Regions from separate parts of the Homo sapiens genome. Here regions 2 and 3 are each linked to region 1. The links are contacts of gene promoters, found by promoter capture Hi-C in human tissues and cell types (Jung and others, 2019). All regions are on one chromosome and are shown on one strand. The core of a region is centred on a gene start or on the middle of the fragment in contact, and the rest is flanking DNA. Distances in the headings are between cores, read along the strand shown. Region 1 holds the start of B3GNT4 (UDP-GlcNAc:betaGal beta-1,3-N-acetylglucosaminyltransferase 4). Region 2 overlaps CLIP1 (CAP-Gly domain containing linker protein 1). Region 3 overlaps CLIP1 (CAP-Gly domain containing linker protein 1).

Region 1 (3,312 bases), core at 408-2,907:
AGGCAGAGGTGGCAGTGAGCTGAGATCGCGCCATTTCACGCCAGCCTGAAGAAGTAAACGTTGGAGGGCATATGCTGCTGGACTTCAAAACCCATGCCTATATGAACATGTGATTTGTGATACTTATCTGTGGGTTAAGATGGCCTTAAAAAGGTTTTTTTTTTTTTAATCTCTTTAATGTTTGGCTTAATTGAAGACAGCTGGATTCTTACAGCTACTTCTGCAGTCAACTGCTTGCAATATGTTGCTGTAATTGACGTGCACAAAGAAAATCCAACCTCAGGCCCATAATTGGAAAAGAGGGAGTATTTTAATAGACCTTAAAATAATATAATTTCTTTAATATTACACCAAATTTGACAAGTGGTAATTTCTTAAAGGTTGTTACAATGTGAAAACAATCTATATTGAATTTTTCATAATCAGATTAAAATTCATTAATCTAGTTTGCATTTTGAACGGATATTTTACCATGCAGTTTGTAACATGCATGAGTTACTTGTAAACTACAGGTTAACAGACTTATGCAGATATTCCAACAGTTGACACCTGTCACTATACATTTTCCAAAGATCACGTTCTTTACTATCACCACCCACATCATTAGAAAGGTCTTTGCGTATTGGAAAATTGGTAAATTCATGGTGGCAGATACAATGTTGTCTCATTTTTAGGGCAAATGTTATACATTTATTGAAATGCTTTCAGTTGTTTCCCCTGAAGTGCTATAATTACTTCATTTTTAAGAAAATATCTGCAGCTGGGCTCGGTAGTGTACGCCTGTGATCCTAGCACGTTGGGAGGCCTAGGCAGGCGGATCACTTGAGGTCAGGAGTTCGAGACCAGGCTGGCCAACATGGTGAAACCCCGTCTCTACTAAAACTACAAAAAATAGCCGGTCGTGGTGACAGGCGCCTGTAATCCCAGCTACTTGGAGGCTGACGCAGGAGAATCGCTTGAACCTGGGAGGCGGAGGTTGCAGTGAGCCGGGATCATGCCACCGCACTCCAGCCTGGGCGACGGAGCACGACACTGTCTCAAAGCAAAAAGCAGCCAGTCTTGCAACTCAAACAGCTGCGATTTATTAAATGATCTAATTAAATACAATTTAATTTTATTTCTTATTACTGTTAACACCCGAGGACCAAAACTGTGCTCCCGCTGGGACAGGGTCCAGGGCTTGCATATGGGATGGGTCAGGGCGGCCGAGAACGCCAGCCCATCCGTCTCCCGGGGCTCATGCTCGCACTTAAATTTTCTCAGAAAAGCCGAAAGCCGTGATTCCGATCTACGAAGGCGATTACCACCCTGAGCCCCTGACCGTAGAGGTGCAGATCCAGCTGAACCAGTGCCGCTCGGCGGAGGAGGCTCTGCGCATGTTCGCCGTGTAGGGCGTGGGCAGTAAAGGCTGTTCCCAGCACTCCCGCCTCCGCTTCTGTCCCGCCGCACGCGTCGGGGGGCGGGTGTGGCGCCGGCGTCCTGGGGAGGAGGAGCAGCCTCTGCCCGACCCGGCTCGTGCGGACCCCAGGACCGGGCGCGGGACGCGTGCGTCCAGCCTCCGGCGCTGCGGAGACCCGCGGCTGGGTCCGGGGAGGCCCCAAACCCGCCCCCGCCAGAACCCCGCCCCAAATTCCCACCTCCTCCAGAAGCCCCGCCCACTCCCGAGCCCCGAGAGCTCCGCGCACCTGGGCGCCATCCGCCCTGGCTCCGCTGCACGAGCTCCACGCCCGTACCCCGGCGTCACGCTCAGGTAGGTTGGGGGCCGGGACGCCGCTGCTGTGAGGGAGGCTGGGTCACCGTGCAGGGAGGGGCGTCGCCAGGGCGGCCGTGCCTTTGCACCCCGCGGCCCGCTCCCCGGTCCCCCAGGGTCCCCGCGAGGACGCCGGCCCCGCCCGGGTGCGGCGCGAGTCTGGCCTCGGCGGGCACGGCTCGGGGCCCACGGGCCGCTCGGCTTCGGTTCTCCAGGCTGGGGACAGAGGCTGGAGCCGGGCGCGGTAGACCCCGCCAGCCTGGGCCGCCCGCGCCCGACGCGCAGCGCTGCTGCCAACCCCGGCCCGGGGGTCCCCGCAGAGTGGGTCTCTGCTGCCGTCAGCCCTTCGGAGACTGTCGCGTTGAAAGAATGAACCAGAGTTCGCCCCCTGCCCGCGCCAGGGCGTTTTGGGTCACCGAGTCCTGTGGGGATCCGAGGCGGCTGCCGCCCAAGGCCGAGCGCAGCCTCAGGACCCGCGCCCCACCAGACGGGGTCGTGCGCTCCGCGGCGGGTGGAGAGCCGGGCTCTGGGGTCTCCGCGGCTCGGAGGGCGGCGGGGCGAGGCCGTGCGGCCAGCGCCTGGGGACGCCCGCGGCGGGACAGGGGCCACCCGGGCCGCGGCGCAGCCTGGGCTGAAACCTCCTGGGACGGAACCAAGCCACCTGCTGTGCGCCCTTCTCGGTGAATGGCACCGCCGCCCGCCCGGGCCTCTCGTCCACAGCCCGCGGTGCTCGCACACCTGAGACTCATCTCGCTTCGACCCCGCCGCCGCCGCCGCCCGGCATCCTGAGCACGGAGACAGTCTCCAGCTGCCGTTCATGCTTCCTCCCCAGCCTTCCGCAGCCCACCAGGGAAGGGGCGGTAGGAGTGGCCTTTTACCAAAGGTCAGATTCTTTCACCGCCTCTGCCAGACCCCCTTGTCCCCCACCCCCGCATAGATCTCCAGGGGGCTCAGAAAACTCTGGCCGGTGGCTCACGCCTGTAGTCCCAACGCTTTGGGAGGCCAAGGCGGGAGGATCGCTTGAGGCCAGGAGTTCCAGACCAGCCCAGGCAACAAAAGATACCACATCTCTACAAAAAATAAATTAGCCGGGCCCTGCACGCCTGTAGTCCCAGCTACTGGGGAGGCCGAGGCCGGAGGATCGCTTGAACCCAGGAGTTCCAGGCTGCAGTGAGCTATAATTGTGCCACTGCACTAGAGTCTGGGTGACAGAGACACTGTCTCAAAAAAAACCAACAAAACCCTTAGCTCTTTCACTAGCCGGGCTGGCCTCTTCCTACTGTAAACCTGCTGGGCCCCCGTCTCCCTTCTTTCTCCCCTCTCTCCTGCCCTGGAGCTGCCTGACTCTGCCCACGGCCTGCAGAGACCCCAGGTCTTCACGCAAGGTGCCATTCCTCACTCAGTTCTTGCTCAAACGTCCCTCCATCAAGGAGGGCTTTTTAGCTACCCTTGGCTATGGGATCCGTCCTCCGCGTCAGCCAATTCTCTGCATTAGACTGTAACTTCTCAACATACCTGGTTCCTATGCGTTTTGTGCTCCCCTCTGAGAGGGCAGCGACCCT
Region 2 (3,333 bases), core at 1-2,500, 80 kb after region 1:
CATTAAACCATTGTCTATGCCAACATTACTGACGTCTGAGTCACAAATCGTATTAAGCCATTAGCTGGAATGACTTGGTATTACCAAAAAAAATCAAGAAGGGAAAATAAACATAACATGAAAGAAGGGATAGAGGGAACAGAAATCTTTCTCTCTCCATCTCCCAAGGGAACATTTTACCCAGATTCTTTCCTTACTACTTATATAAGAAACAAATTCCAGTAATGAAGCAAATACCTTAAAGTGTTACTGGGCAAGCTTTAAAAATGCAAGATAACAAGAACCAAATATTAGAACCATGAAGAGAAACGCAAATACAGTAAGGAGACTAAATTTGCACTGAAGTTCTTTGCTGTATATAGATATAAAAAGGAAATATATGTGTGTGTTTGTGTGTGTATATATATATGTATATATATATACTGCTGAGAATATTTTACAAAACAAAAGCAAGACACAGAGGGACAAAGGCAGCCAAAAAATATATACAACAATTTGGTTTACTAAAAATATATGAAATTTATTTATTATAACGTGGATAGACTTTCTTTAGTCTTACCATTAAAGACACACAGATATAGCAAAGGAAGCAAGAGTAGGAAAGGGAAAAGAGAGGGGTGAAATGAGCATTGGTAAGTAGCGCAAGCTCGGAGACAGTCAGACAGTTAGCAACCCACAGTGAGCCGGATGAGCTGAAGTAGCACGGGACCTCCTCAGAATTTGGGGGCTTTATTGTCAAACCAGTTTTTACTCCTAACAGAAATCCTGCACTGGCACTGACAGGATGAATTCTGACTCCAAAATCCATGCCTCGCGCCTTTGGCTTTGGAGCCCCTTCTTTGACACTAAAAAGCCTAGAGAATGGAGCAACCAAACCGGCTCCCAAATCTGCATCAGGCTTCAGAGGCACAGATGAACAAACTCCCCCAGTTCTGGCAATTAGAGCAATGCAAGGCATACCCTGCTTTACCCATTAGACTCTTAGAGCCTGTTTTAAAAGGCTTACCCAACTTGAGAGTTTTTCAAAGAAATGATTACATTTTTATGCTTGGGGAAAAATTTTTTACTACATACTGCTTGCAACTCAATGTTTAAAGTTACAAAAAAACAAAAAACAAAAAGAAAAAAAACCCCACAGCAAATAAAGAAGGATTCCACTAATTCCTTTCTTTTTCTTTCTTTCTTTTCTTTTTTTTTTTTTTTGAGATGGAATCTCGCTCTGTTGCCCAGGCTGGAGTGCAGTGGTGCGATCTCGGCTCACTGTAACCTCCGCCTCCTGAGTTCAAGCAACTCTGCTGCCTCAGACTCCTGAGTAGCTGAGATTCCAGGCACCCGCCACCACACCCAGCTAATTTTTGTATTTTTAGTAGAGATGGGGTTTCACCATGTTGGCCAGGCTGGTCTTGAACTCCTGACCTCAGGTGATCCTCCCAAAGCACTGGGATTACAGGCGTGACCCACCGCACCCAGCCGGATTCTAATTTCTTCATGATAACCAGTTTAATCCTACAGTTGGGAGTAAGTTCTGCACTTGAATATCATGACTATTTGGCCATAGTGATTCTATTACTATCTTAACTATGTACGTTTAATGATCACTTCTGAATTCAAGTGTTGACTAAGCTCTCAGTTCTTGCATGACCAACTACATTTCAAATACTCACAATGTAAGTATTTGCAAGGCTTTTTAAATTAATAGTATATTAAGTTCTTTTTGGTACTCAATGGTTGACACATTTATTTAACCATTACACGCATAGGCCTACATATGAATCCTTTATCAATCTGAGTTTTAGAAGGCAATGAAGGGCCCCAACTATTATCTAAAATCCATTTACATTCAGGTTTCTAAAACAGAAATAACTTTCCATAAGGGTTAATTAACAAACAAACAAAAAACACTTCTACACATGAGAAACTAGGAGTGAAATTTTCACTCCCAGAAAAAGTCATCTTTATCTATAATTTCTGATGAAAATTAAGAGTGATTTTCAAGAGACATCCTCCTAAACATTGAGGACATAAAACAGGAACAGAGAGAAGTAGGAGAGAGAACTTCACGGCCCCAAAATTTGTTTCATCTTTTTTTTTTTTTTGAGATGGAGTTTTGCTCTTGTTGCCCAGGCTGGAGTGCAATGGCGCGATCTCGGCGCACTGCAACCTCTGCATCCCGGGTTGAAGCGATTCTCCTGCCTCAGCCTCCTGAGTAGCTGGGACTACAGATGCCCGCCACCGTGCCCGGCTATTTTTGTATTTTTAGTAGAGACGGGGTTTCACCATGTTGGCCAGGCTGGTCTCAAACTCCTGACCTCAGGTGATCCACCTGCCTCGGCCTCCCAAAGTGTTGGGATTACAGGCATGAGCCACTGCACCTGGTCATGTTCCATCTTTTTAAGCCATGAAAAGCGTCCCATGCCTAACCATATTTTGAAAGGCATGTAATTTACTTAAAGTTACATGATAAGGACTTCATCATTAAGTACATCATCTCTTTTTTAAAAAGATACACATAAATAATAAATAAATAAAAAGCTTAAAAATTCACTCAGAAGAGAACCAGCATAAAAAATCTGATGATCTGAGTCTTTAGCCTACACCTGTCTTTTATTAGTCCTGAGTCCTTGGCCAACTTGCCTAACTTTTTGAGCTTTAGTTTCATCATTTTATGTATTTATTTTATTTTAGAGACAGGGTCTCACTATGTTGCCCAGGCTAGAGTACAGCAGCTCTTCTCAGGCATGATCAGAGTGCACTACAGCACTGAATACCTGGGCTCAAGTGATCCTCTCACCTCAGCCTCCTGAGTAGCTGGGACTACAGGCATGTGCCACCATGTCCAGCTAATTTCATCATTTAAAAATGCAAGCTCCACCATTATATTTCACTGGGTTGTTTTGAGATTAGATCAATTTGTGAATTATGACGTGCTACATAAATGTAGGGAGATACCAGTCCTTTTTTTTTTTTTTTTTGAGACGGAGTCTTGCTCTGTCACCAGGCTGGAGTGCAGTGGCACGATCTCGGCTCACTACAACCTCCACCTCCCGGGTTCAGGCAATTCTCCCGCTTCAGCCTCCTGAGTAGCTAGGACTGCAGGCACATGCCACCATGCCCAGCTAATTTTTGTATTTTTAGTAGAGACGGGGTTTCACCTTTCACCATGTTAGCCAGGATGGTCTCAATCTCTTGACTTTGTGATCCACCCACCTCGGCCTCCCAAAGTGCTGGGATTACAGGTGTAAGCCACGGTGCCCGGCCTAATTTTTGTATTGCCAGGCTGGTCTTGAACTTCTGACCTCAAGTGATCCACCTGCCTTGGCCTCCCAAAGTGCT
Region 3 (3,264 bases), core at 94-2,593, 120 kb after region 1:
AGCTTGCAAAGAGTCATTTTCCACATTTATCTTCAAGAGTTCTTCCTGTACAACATTGATTTCTTTAAGCAATTTCTCTCTCTCAACAGCCAAAGCTTCTTTATTGAGATGTTCCTGCTCATAATACTTTTCGGCATCTTGCTTTTCTTCTAAGAATTTCTCCTTTTCTAAATTAAGAGTTTCATTCACTGACCACAGTTTCTGCTGGTCTCCCTGAAGTAAAGCTATTTTGGCCTCCAATTCTACAAGCTTGGATAAAAGTGAACCGTTTTCTAACTTTAAATCATTTCCCTCCTGAGAAAGAAGCTGCTTCTCTGATTTCAGACCCCTCAGCTCTTCTGACATTAGTTCAATTTCTTTTTTGGCTGATGTTAACAAATAAGTTAGCGACTACAGAAACAAAAGATGGAAAGAATGGAAACAAAAATGAAATCAAGCAGACAAATGCAAGCCCAAATAACTTAATGTAACCTAAATGATAAAAACTTTACAATTTCTACAATAAACTTTATAGAAACTATCTGAATAACAAGGGAAAGAAACTAAACAGAGCCCATAAAAAGGTAAGTCAAAAGTGTAGTTTTGCAAAGTGCTTCTGTATCTGTTAGCTTATTTTATCTTTGAAACAACTTGTGAAATTATTCCCAGTAGCTACCTAGAAGATAAAAATAGTAGCTTGATTTTAATATCAGGGCATAAGATTCTTTCCTGCCATTCCAATTATCAAATTACTTTGAAAGCAGAAAGGATTCATAGAACAATTTTTAAAAATACAATTAAAAGAAGTACAAAAACTCAGTATATTTTAATGAAAAAAGGAAGGGGCATAACAAGGGAAAATAAACTACTGCCTTCCAAACTCACCACAGGACCTTACTTAAGGGTAGCTGAGGGGCTGAGAGTGATTTAGTCCCAATATCACATATAACTTAAAAACTACAGCCTAATTTCTAGGCTTTGCTGACTAAAAGGAATAGTTTTTTTTTTTTATTTACTGAATTATAAGATAATTTGACCACAGTGTCTATACCAGTGCTATCCAGAACTTTCTGCAATGATATAATTTTTTTTTTTTTTTTTTGAGACTGAGTCTCGCTCTATCTATTGCCCAGGCTGGAGTGCAATGGTGCGATCTTGGCTCACTGCAACCTCCGCCTCTGGGTTCAAGCTATTCTCATGCCTCAGCCTCCCAAGTAGCTGGGATTACAAGGCTCCGCCACCGTGCCCGGCTAATTTTTGTATTTTTAGTAGAGACGGGGTTTCACCATGTTGGCCAGGCTGGTCTCAAACTCCTGACCCCAAGTGATCCACCCACCTAGGCCTCCCGAAGTGCTGGGATTACAGGCATGAGCCACCACGCCCAGCTGATATAAATGTTCTTATTTGCACTCCCATCATGGTGACCATATGACTACTGAGCACCTGAAATGTGGTGAGTGCAACTGAGGAGCTAAATTTTTAATTAAAATGTAACAAATTTAAATTTATTTATTTATTTATTTATTTTGGAGGCAGAGTCTCACTCTGTGGCCCAGGCTGGAGGGAAGTGGCGCGATCTCGGCTCACTGCAACCTCTGCCTCCCAGTTTCAAGCGATCCTCTTTTAAGCATATACAAAAATAGAGAAAATAATGTAGACCGCATATATTCCCATATTAAGGTTTTTATTTTTATTTATTTTTTGAGACAGTCTCACTCTGTCACCCAGGCCAGAGTGCAGTGGCACCATCTCAGCTCACTGCAGCCTCCGCCTCCCAGGCTCAAAGGATTCTCCTGCCTCAGCCTCCTGAGTAGCTGGGACTACAGGTGTGTGCCACCACACCCAATTAATTTTTTGTATTTGTAGTAGAGACGGTCTCACGATGTTGTCCAGGGTGGTCTCAAACTCCTGTGCTCAGGCAATCTGCCCACCTTGGCCTCCCAAAGTGCTAGGATTACAGGCGTGAGCCACCAGAACTGGCTACAAATTTACATTTGAATGGCCTCACATGGCTGGTGGCTACTACATTAGGCAGCACAGCTATAGCCCACTGGCTCTTAAAAGTAGGGAATAGGAGGCTTCATGGGTTCCAGGAACCTTGTTGAGTGCACACGTAAACTTTCCTGAAAAAATATCTGTAGATTTCATTAGATTATTCCAAAGAGTCTGGGACTGATTACGATCCACTGAAATTAGATACTAGACACGTTTGGAGGGGAACAGTCCTGGCATTTTTAACTCAATGACTCTTGCACAAAACCAACCAACAAAATCAGTGAGACTGGCCAGGAATGGTGGCTCATGCCTGCAATCCCAGCACCTTGTGAGACTGGCCAGGAATGGTGGCTCACGCCTGCAACCCCAGCGCCTTGTGAGACTGGCCAGGAATGGTGGCTCACGCCTGCAACCCCAGCGCCTTGTGAGACTGGCCAGGAACGATGAATCACGCCTGCAATCCCAGCACCTTGGGAAGCTGAAGCAGGTGGATCGCTTGCATCCAGGGGTTCGAGACCAGCCTGAGCAACATAGCGAGACTCTGTCTCTACAAAAAATAAAAAATTAGCCAGGTGTAGTGGCACGTGCTTTTAGTCTCAGCTACTTGGGAAGCTGAGGCAAGGGGATCACTTGAGCCCGAGAGGTTGAGGCTGCAGTGAGCCATGACTGTGCCGCTGCACTCAGCCTGGGTGACAGAGTGAGACCTTGTCTCAAAAAAACAAACAACAACCGAGGAGACCTTACATCAGCTTCTGCGATGCTGTGGTTTGCTCAGGCTGAAACATTTTAAAGGAAATACAAAAAAAAAACTGAAGTCTGCACAGATAAAGGAAACCACAAAGACAAAAGATCTGGGAATTGTATCTAGTGTTAAATGGCTCATAAAACTGGAGGTATTTCACAGAAAGAAGAGAAATCCTCAACTATCAGCATGTAGAAGAGGGAGAATATGGGCCTCCCAGATGACATGCACGGCACACACATACCATGTCATGTCCACTTAGTTAGCAAGAGGCTTTTCATGAGATTGGTTTCAAGTCCTATATATGCTCTTTTATCATTTCTTTCTACTAAACTCCTATAAACACATTAAAAATAAAGAAAGGTGAATATTTACTTTCCTTTGAGCAATAGAAGGTTAAACAGTGGGCAAGGTTGAACTTCGTGAAGTTACCAGAGTCACAAAATGTACTGGGCAGGCCAGGCATGGTGGCTCACACCTGTAATCCCAACACTTTAAGAGGCCAAGATGGGAGGACTGCTTGAGCCCAGGAGTTTGAGACCAGCCTG

Evidence for each region. The method cuts DNA at HindIII sites, captures the fragments that hold promoters and counts their contacts. A contact is called where the count stands out against the background at its distance.
Region 2: a contact is called between a fragment that was not itself captured here and the fragment with the promoter of B3GNT4 in region 1, in 4 of the 25 tissues and cell types used here (IMR-90 fibroblasts, dorsolateral prefrontal cortex, lymphoblastoid cells and 1 more).
Region 3: a fragment that was not itself captured here is called in contact with the fragment with the promoter of B3GNT4 in region 1 in 11 of the 25 tissues and cell types used here (IMR-90 fibroblasts, aorta, dorsolateral prefrontal cortex and 8 more).

Annotation. Positions count from the first base shown.
Region 1 is chr12:122,202,052-122,205,363 of GRCh38, forward strand. B3GNT4 (UDP-GlcNAc:betaGal beta-1,3-N-acetylglucosaminyltransferase 4) reads left to right here and starts at 1,658. Exons shown (of 3, transcript NM_030765.4): 1 at 1,658-1,750; 2 at 2,471-2,633. The coding sequence starts at 2,568. LRRC43 (leucine rich repeat containing 43) reads left to right here. Exons shown (of 12, transcript NM_001098519.2): 12 at 1,264-1,420. The coding sequence ends at 1,391. RefSeq lists a silencer at 1,343-1,972. The HindIII fragment of the contact is 16,495 bases long and covers 1-3,312 here.
Region 2 is chr12:122,282,274-122,285,606 of GRCh38, forward strand. All of the region lies in intron 21 of CLIP1 (CAP-Gly domain containing linker protein 1), which reads right to left. Among named protein-coding and RNA genes, the nearest start is that of VPS33A, 17 kb to the left of the region's middle. RefSeq lists a silencer at 136-336. The HindIII fragment of the contact is 5,409 bases long and covers 1-3,333 here.
Region 3 is chr12:122,323,992-122,327,255 of GRCh38, forward strand. All of the region lies in intron 17 of CLIP1 (CAP-Gly domain containing linker protein 1), which reads right to left. Among named protein-coding and RNA genes, the nearest start is that of VPS33A, 59 kb to the left of the region's middle. The HindIII fragment of the contact is 8,257 bases long and covers 1-3,264 here.